Regions from separate parts of the Homo sapiens genome. Here all the other regions are linked to region 2. Evidence: promoter capture Hi-C in human tissues and cell types (Jung and others, 2019). All regions are on one chromosome and are shown on one strand. Each heading gives the region's core, a stretch centred on a gene start or on the middle of the fragment in contact. The rest is flanking DNA. Distances are from core to core; before and after follow the strand shown.

What was found. Contacts are between HindIII fragments. The study calls those that stand out against the background at their distance.
Region 1: a fragment that was not itself captured here is called in contact with the fragment with the promoter of SH3BGRL2 in region 2 in 3 of the 25 tissues and cell types used here (adrenal gland, dorsolateral prefrontal cortex and mesendoderm cells).
Region 3: a contact is called between a fragment that was not itself captured here and the fragment with the promoter of SH3BGRL2 in region 2, in 1 of the 25 tissues and cell types used here (H1 embryonic stem cells).

The regions. Positions count from the first base shown.
Region 1 is chr6:79,497,891-79,500,990 of GRCh38, reverse strand. The region is part of intron 3 of LCA5 (lebercilin LCA5); the gene reads left to right. Among named protein-coding and RNA genes, the nearest start is that of LCA5, 38 kb to the left of the region's middle. The HindIII fragment of the contact is 3,539 bases long and covers 1-3,100 here.
Region 2 is chr6:79,629,759-79,632,952 of GRCh38, reverse strand. It overlaps SH3BGRL2 (SH3 domain binding glutamate rich protein like 2), which reads right to left and starts at 1,624. Exons shown (of 4, transcript NM_031469.4): 1 at 1,447-1,624. The coding sequence starts at 1,491. The HindIII fragment of the contact is 5,139 bases long and covers 1-2,190 here.
Region 3 is chr6:79,437,912-79,441,075 of GRCh38, reverse strand. The region is part of intron 5 of LOC100506851 (a long non-coding RNA gene); the gene reads right to left. Among named protein-coding and RNA genes, the nearest start is that of LCA5, 98 kb to the left of the region's middle. The HindIII fragment of the contact is 6,028 bases long and covers 1-3,164 here.

The DNA of each region.
Region 1 (3,100 bases), core at 417-2,916, 130 kb after region 2:
ATAATAACTCTAATTTTATTGGTCAGATCACATCTAATAGCAAGTACCAGATTTTAGGTAACAAACTGACATATGGAGGCAAACAGGATAACCAGGGGGTCAAAAAGCTGACATAAAAGAAACAGTGGAAGAAACACAGAATCATAGAAAATATAAGGAAAAATGTAACTTACTTCATTGTTTAAAGGGCTGTCACATGGAGCAGGAGAAATGGATTTATTTCCTGAGGGCAATACAAACCTAATGAATATTACTAGAAAACTGGTTTCCTCTCATTCAAAAGAGCCTCCTAATAACTGGAATTGTCCAATAATGAAACCAGTATGCTTTGCATTATCAAGCTTTCTGCTTCCTGAAGTATTTGTGCAGATTCAATGTCTACCTTCTAGGAATACTGTAAAAAAGTATTACTGTAAGGTGGACTGGAGACCTGCAGGGTCCTTGCTTACACAAGGATCTGAATCTTTAGAATTGAGCTATAACAACACTGAACAGATGTTAAAACAGCTGACATTGATAGACTTATTTTAACAAATGCAATATTGTTATTTAAATCTATAATCCTTTACTAATTAATAAAAAATAAATGAAGGTAAAATAACTTATCCTTTGTGTTTGCTTGCAAAAATTTTAAATTATGTTAATCCTTTATTTCTTTCCATTAACAAGACAGAATTCTGTGATATGTCCTTTGGAAAAAATGTTAAGTATTTTAAATTTTATTGTATTATTAACGTGTTTGTTTAAAGATGTTTTGAAATTTACAGTAAAAGTGGGGAAAAAAATTACCCAAAGGACTGTAAATCATGCTGCTATAAAGACACATGCACACATATGTTTACTGCGGCACTATTCACAATAGCAAAGACTTGGAACCAACCCAAATGTCCAACAATGGTAGACTGGATTAAGAAAATGTGGCACATATACACCATGGAATACTATGCAGCCATAAAAAATGATGAGTTCATGTCCTTTGTAGGGACATGGATGAAATTGGAAATCATCATTCTCAGTAAACTATCGCAAGAACAAAAAACCAAACACCGCATATTCTCACTCATAGGTGGGAATTGAACAATGAGAACACATGGACACAGGAAGGGGAACATCACACTCTGGGGACTGTTGTGGGGTGGGGGGAGTGGGGGAGGGATAGCATTAGGAGATACACCTAATGCTAAATGACGAGTTAATGGGTGCAGCACACCAGCATGGCACATGTATACATATGTAACTAACCTGCACATTGTGCACATGTACCCTAAAACTTAAAGTATAATAATAATAAAATAAAATTTAAAAAAAAGGAAAAAAAAAAGTGGGGCAAAAATATCCATAGTCCTGCCAGCCGAAGATAACTACTATTTGCATTTTCTTCCTTATTGATTGTTTCTTTAATTTCTTAAAGTACTTCTAATATTTTTTATGAAATATTTTGAATATACAGAAAAAGAATATTTAAAACATTCATGTACCTACTTGATATTTTTCTATTTTTGCTTTAGATCTTATTTTGCTAAAATAAGCTGACATTAAGATCTTAAACTGAAGTTTCCTTGTATCTTTTCTCCAAACATCCTTTTTCTACTCTCCTTGCTCAGAAGTAACTACTCTTTTGAAGTTGTAGGATATATTTTTTCTAAGCATTTTAATTTTTACTTAAACATATTTTAGAAGCTTTTTTTAAATAAGTAGTACATGTATATATATTTTTAATTAGAGAAAAATTAAAAGATAAAATGAAAACATTCTCATTCTTACCACTCAGATGTCACCACTTTTAGTGTCTTAGTATGTATCCTTCTGGATCTTTTTCTGTGAATTTGTGTGTGTATTTATGTGTAAGGAAATTTTCTTCTACTACTGGCTTGCTAGGGTTTTTGTTTTAAATCATGGATTGTTTTGAATGTGAAACTACTCTCGTTCTTTGCTTCTTGGGATAGGTGCTGTTTAGTTGTGATGCAATTTTTACACATTGCTAAATTCCTTTTGCTAATATTTGTTTGAGACTTTTGCAACAATATTCATATTTTGGAATGGTGTACAATTTTATTTTTCCACTATTGACATCAAGATTATAAAAAAATCTCATCAAAAATGACATAGAGTTTTTCCTTTCTGTTCTCTTTTACAGATAATCTGTTTCTTAAAATTTGTTAGATTTCACCACTGAAAACTGGATTTATTCCTCATTTGGGAGTTTGTTTTTGCTTTTTTGGTTTCTTTTTCTACTTAATCTTTTAATTTTTAACAGTGTTTTTAATTTTTAAAAAAAATTCTTCTTAATATTTTAATAGTATTTTTTAGTTTACCATTATTTCTTGCATGTCACCATTGTTCATTATTGTTCCTTCAGGGTTCACTTCCTTTCTTACTGAAATATATGTTTAAGTGAGGGCTTCTGAGTGGCAACACTTTTTAGTAGTTGTCTGAATGTATTTTATCTTCACTCTTCAATGATAATTTTACTGGGTCTTGCTGGATTCCAGGTTGACAGTTATTATCATTTGGAACTTAAGTATTTTTTAGCCCTGGTATTTTTTTTAACATGTTCTCATTGAGTTTAATGGTTTCCTGTTTTGCTCCAAAATATCTAGGGGGGGATAGGATTTTTTAAATTAATATTTTATATGGAAATAATTTCAAGCTTACAGAGAATTGCAAATCTGAAAACAGTACAAAGAACACTCCTATACAGTTTACCCAGATTCGTCTGTTGCTAACATTTTATCCCATTTGTCTTATAATATGCATGCATGCTCTCTCATGTGGTCTCTCTGTCATATGCATATATACACATACTTTTTTTTTTTTTAGCTATTTGAGGGTAACTTGCATACATCATGCTCTTTACCCCTAAATGCATCAGTGTGTATTTTTTCAGAATAGGGATTATGCCCTTTATAGAACCATAGTAAAATTATGGTTATACTATGATTTACACTTATATAATGATTTCCTCTAATCTACTGTCTGTAGTACAGTTTTTGTCAGTTGACTTAATCATATCTTTCTTTTTTTTTTTTTTTTTGAGATGGAGTCTCACTCTGTCGCCCACTCTGGAGTGGCTCACTGCAACCTCCACCTCCCGGGTTCA
Region 2 (3,194 bases), core at 375-2,874:
ATAATCAATATAATGCTATTGGGACAATTATTGAAGCATGCAAGTCGGTGGTGAAACCAAGAGCTTTGTAGCATTCTTAGTAAGGAGTGCATTTGAACAAATCTACCCTTGAAACAGTGCCAGTTTGCAAACACATGAAGTGTGGCTTCAGTGGGGAAATCTACAAAAGGCAGGCATGACTAAGCAACCCAAATAGCTAGAAACACCAGAAACTGTCAGAAGTCTGAGGACCCCAACATGACTGCACATAAGTGTAAGTTGGATTTTCCCATCTATTGTTTCTAGTGCAAATGGGGGTGGAGGGGCTTTGTATGATCGTGTTGGTTTCTTTTTAAATAAAAAACTTCAGTGGTGTACAAGGATTTTCAAACAATATTTTATTCCATCCTCCACTCCACCCACTTAAGAAACAAATTTTGGAACAATCTGACTGAGCTACTGGGCAGACAATTGACCAGACCAAATTTAAGCAATCTACAATGCACTTTTTGATGTTACTTGATTATATATGTCACAAAGGAGGCTCTTAAATCTATAGCTGAACTCTTGGTTAAGGAAACCAAGTCTCAATAATCATGTAAAACACATGTGCTATGTCCCTTAGTGGGCTGTCAAATATACTAACTACTGAATTTTCCTTAAATTCTGACATCTCTAGCTATTTAACTTTCCTTTCTTTAAAAAAATTTTTTTTCTCTAAAAAAATTCAAGAACATCCACCAAAGAGAATAGCTAAAAATAATTAAATAGAAAACCACAATTCATAGATCCCCAGGATAAAATTTCCACAGCATTACAGGTGGAAAGAAAATGCGTGCATACACACACATTTACATAAAGATGTAAAAATATTTATGGCACCCTAAGAAAAAAAATGACAGTGAAAGCAAACAATCCTACCACAACAGGACAAACCTAGTTTTACTATTCTCTTTGCGCAGGTATAAAACTAAACAAATGCACTTGCTGGCGGGGAAGGGAGGACAGAGAGCAATTCCCACTTAAACTTGCTTCATTCAGGAGCTAGGGTAACAAACCAAAGCAGCAGAAAAGGCTCCCGTGCAAAACATAACCAGTCTGAAGGTCCCAAATCGGGAAGAACTAAACTAGGGGAAGGGGGATCCCCGAAGCTCTTGAACAACCCGTTCCCCAAATTTCCATGCCACACAACAGGAGCTGGGGGCTTCCCTCGGACTCCATTTTCAGGCCGCGTTGTCTGCCTTTCAGGCCACGCAGGGTGGGCATTTGGGTGAGGCCGGGGTCCCCCACCCACCTTTCCTCCCCGCCCTCTTCATTGTTGTCGGAGTGTGATGGATCACCTGCCGGGCGCGGGCTCCCGCGGGCGGACCGGCTGAGCGCAAGGACGCGCAGTGACGAGCGCCGCGCGCCTCCCGCAGGACCCGCGCCCCGCGACCCCAACCTACTGCCCGCCCCCACCGCGCTCACCGCCACGAAGCCCGAGGAAGAGGCGATGAACACGCGGATGACCATCCTCTCGCTGCGCCCGGGACAGACCCCTTGCCCCCCGGGCTCCGGGCTGGCGTGGACGCAGAGCTGAACCCAGCTACGAGCCGCCGGCAGCCTCTGGGTAAAGCGCTGCCGTCGGGGAAGATCGCTGGGATCTGGCTCCCTCCCGGCGGGTCCGCAGATAAAAGCCCAGCGCCGCCCGGCCGCAGGCTGAAGGGGAAGGAGAGGGAGGAGGAGGGAGCCGGCTGCGGGGCTTGATGGGATTTGTAGTTTCCGTCTCTCCCTGGAGTGGCTGGTGGACTGAGCTCCCCTCCTGACCGCGCTTCTATCCCGAACACGCGCAGGTGGCTGGAGGGGAGCCACAGCCCGGGCAGAAGCTGTGAGGTGGGTTGGCAAGGATCCTGGCTTGATGAGGAAAAAGCAAACTAGGCAAAAGGGCTCGGTTCAAAGTCCAAGCTTGGGTTCTGTATTGTGGTTTATTGGTTTGGAGCATCCACACCCAGAAATGCCAACAGACACGATCGTGCTGCGGGCACACATCGTCTCAGGGCCGCTGGCGTACCGGGCAAACCCCAGCTACCTGAAGCAGGCGGGATCGGCGAGCCGGGTGCTTGGGAGGTGTGGGCGGTGGGGTTGGGCTCGTTTGTTTGTCCAGTAGCACTGGAGATTGCAGAAAGGTGATTCTTTTGGGTAAATGAGAGGTCTTCTCTTGTCTGTACACACTGAAAATTAGAAACCCAGATGGAAGCACAACCAATATTTTATTTTTCTCAGCAAAACTGTAATTGTAGTAGAAAAAAATAAATACCAAACGAAATTGGAATCCTTCTATCAACATTGGAAATCAGGACCCTACCTGCCCCACCCCTCCCTACACAATGGCTTCGCCTCTGTGCACCTAATATTTACAGTTCAGCCAAATCTGTGCCTTTTTCAGAACCGCTGCACATTCCAGCGCAGTTTCCCAGGAGGATGCTGTTAAATAAAAAGCTTCTATATAGTTGCTAATAGTTTAGGAATAGTTTTTTATCAAGTGCTTTCTGTTTGACAAAAGCTCAAGCCTCTCTCTCAGTTTTGTCGAAAGGAACCAGTTTTCCCTGCTGTACTGTATTTACTTTTTTCCTTTCAACACGGGAGTTTAGCAGAGGTCTGGGAACAATGTTAATTAAGAAAAAGTAAGAAATTAGATGATGAGGTCTCTGGCTCTTTGATACATTTCTTGCACAAAGAGCAATCATTATGAAGTATTTTTTAGAACAGTTATGAATATTTCAAATTTATAACCTTTCCTATTGCTTTTCTTAAAGCCATTTCTGTAGTAGGAATCTTTTTAAATTTCCTTCAATAATAGAAGAGACACTCCTAATGGGACTTTATTTCTTCTTCGTGTTTAAAATTTTAAATAGAAGTTTTGCTGTCTTTAGTATCTCTCGGCAAATGTACTTTAATTTTGCTACCATAAATGTGGAAATGCACGTTTATAAAATAGAAAATAATTTTCTTAAAAGTAGATACCGTATTTCCTATATAAATGCAAATCTTTATAAAAGTCAGCATTTTCTTCAGTTTGGAATTATTCAGCTATGAAGATATAGTTAAACTCAAATAATTGGAACTCAGAGCCTACTCTGTGAAAGGTACAAGAATGGATAAAAAGTTGAACGAGTCATTTCTCTGTCAGCAGAGCACCTATTGTCTAGGAAAGAAAAAGACAGATACAGAAATAG
Region 3 (3,164 bases), core at 484-2,983, 190 kb after region 2:
ATCCCAATGTAGATCAAGAGATACTGGGCATAGGATTTGATATTATAATTTGTTGAGACTTTGGGAGTCTTTGGAACAGTTGACTATAGTTTGCATATGGAAGTAATGTGAGTTTTTGTGGCCAGAGGGCAGACTGTGGGAGATTGTATGTAACTACAGCCAGTAAGAATTATTTATGCACTTGCCAGTTCTCTGACCGAGAGAGCACATCTGTTTACTCATACCTTGAATCTGCACTGAACTTGTGATTTTTTTGACAAGTTTAATGCAGCAGAAGTCATATGCTTGGATTTTTGAGCCCAGACATTCAAATGTCATATAGCTTCTGTTTTCACTCAGAGAGGAAACAAGCAGCTATATAAAGAATCCATGTAAAGAGAGAGCATGTGCAGAAAAAGAGGCCCCAGAGTATAAGAGCCTGTGAAGGGAGAGATAGAGAGGATCAGCCAGGTCCCAGCCACTTCAGTCAAACATTAGAGAAATGTGACATGTGAGCAAAGCTATCATGGATTCTCCAGTCAATGCACATGTTGCAGAAATGAGCTTTCCCTTTTGAGCACTGCTTAAATTCCTGAACAGCAGAACTGTGAGAGTTAAATGATGGTTTTAAGCCAACAGTGTGACACAGGTTCACTGTGCACTGGTTACCAACTTGTCTGAATCCAGTGAGATAGAACTGTCACATACAAGTTCCATGAAGCAGGCTTATTACTTACAGATAGGGAGCAAGGGACAATAGAAGCCTAGGATTCACTATGAGCCAGTCCCCTCTCTACAGGGGGCAGAGGGATATCATACACCCATACCTAAGTAAATGTTTTATTTTAAAGAGTCCAGTTTACTCTGCTGGGAATTACCAGCAAAGAAAAGAGAAGGTATTGAGTCCCTAGTAATTGTAGAGTTTACAAAAAGTAAATTGATGATTGCTATTAAATAAATTATGTATCACAAAACAACATCAAATAGTTGAATAAACACAATAACTGAGGAGTGACAGTGAGCAGGAGATTCGTGTCTCTGTTAAATAAAATAAAGATGATTTTTCTTATAAATGGCCTTTTTGGAAAAACTTGATGCAAGTAAACATGGACATTTTTGTCGCTTCTTCCTTGAAACCATGCACATATGCAACTGAGACACAGGCCATGATGCAGGTTAATAATGCAAATTATCAAGCTCATTCTCACTACTGAGAATCATAAAGATGCAGAGAGAACACACATCTTAACCGACTGGAACTTCCTAGCATGGTTTCCGGTTAAATATTCTAGTTAAATAGATAAAAACCTTTGATAAAAAATTATTTCATAAGTTTGTCACTTGTACAAAATAACACACCTATGCCTTCAATATTTCTTACTGATAATCTCTTTTCTTTTCCTCTGCCAATATATCATATTTCAATTTTGACATTTTAAACCCTTTGGTTTGATGAGGGTTTTTTCCACCCTGGAAAAATGTGTGTAGTTGGATTCAAGAAGAGTAAAAGGTTTGTTCTTGAGTACATTGGGAGAAAGGTGATAGTGGTGAGAGATAAGAGGAGAACTACCAGAGGGATATACTGTAGGCAGGTGTGTTTTAGGAAAGAGAACATATGGAGGGTAAGGACTTGGATTCTTTAAAGAAATTATTTATTAATTTCAACTTTTATTTTAGGTTCGGGGGTACATGTGCAGGTTTTTTACATAGGTATATTGTATGATGCTGAGGTTTAGGGTATGAATGATCCCATCACTCAAGCAGTGAGCATAGTACCCAATAGGTAGATTACTAGTGGTCTCTAGTGTCTATTGTTCCCATGTTTATGTCCATGAGTATCCAATGCTTAGCTCCCACAATGCTTAGTTCTCACTTATAAGTAAGAACATGCTGTATTTGGTTTCCTGTTCTTGACTTAATTCACTTAAGAACCTGGATTCTTTAAAGCCACCCCCCATGACCCCACCCAACATGGTCTCTTAGGGCAAGTCGGCATGTACTCTGATATACCCAGACTCGTTTGAAGAGTGCTACTTTACATTATCTTACATTGGGTAATCAAGCTTTTTAATTGTTTATCCACAATGGGTTAATAGCTACTACACTGTCATAGCCTGCAGTGTTGATGTATTCACTTCTGCCCAGGAAGGCGAGAGTATTTTGTGTGATCCTCATTTTTGTGACTTTAAATCAGATGAGACTTCAAATTTACACATTTTCTTCCATTGCTCTGTGCTTTATTACATGGTTAAGTGCTTTAAGATTTATTAAATCCAGGTGTTTTATTTCTCAGTAATCACCAGAACTCACCTGATTTGATTATGCCAATCTGTTATTTTTAAGAATTGTTTTTTTTAAAATATTCTTTCCCAGTTAATATTGTATATGTGGCTTTCTTGATTTAAAAATATATTAAGAAATGTTGTAATTTTATGAAAGATCATGTGAAAAAGTTTACTGAAGCATTTGTTTTCCTTATGCTATTAACAAAGCTTAATAACAAAGAATGTATTCTAGAGTAATATTTGGGGCTATTTCTAAAACACATTTCTTGCAGTGATCTCTACACTTTCCTCATGAATACAAAGCAATGTGTTTCTGTTTTTCTGGGCATAGAAGTGGATAGCACAATGATATAACTCCTTATTCACAACATCATTGCAGCTCCATATTAAAAACATTTTTGCTTAAATAATGAGCATTTTTGCTTATCCATAAAGAACCCACGAGACACAAAAAAATGTTTTTCCCAGATGGTCCTTTTTGCATGAAAATTACTAACCCAGACATCAAAAGCAAACAATAAAGTGTTGAAATATGTAATTTGGGCCAAAACAACAGAGTCTGGAACTTCCACGGGCTTTGTGATTTTAAGAGAACAGCTGGGTGTGTGCAGGCAGTCAGCCCAGCTATGACTCTGAACCTCTGTTGTGTTTCTTTTTCTATACAGTCACTATGGGTACAGTTTCCTTCTTTTGGAAATGGAAGCATGGTTATAATAATTCTTGAACTTGAGAAAGGCATAGGCATTTGCTTACCTTTTATAAAAGGGGTAAATCATTTTTAGTATTTATGGTGTAATCAGTTGTTTTTGTTTGCCTGCTATTCATTTGCGTTTTTGCTGGTAAAATAACCAATATGTTCCTTGGGGAACTACCCCTTTCTCCACAGACTCAGCCATGGTT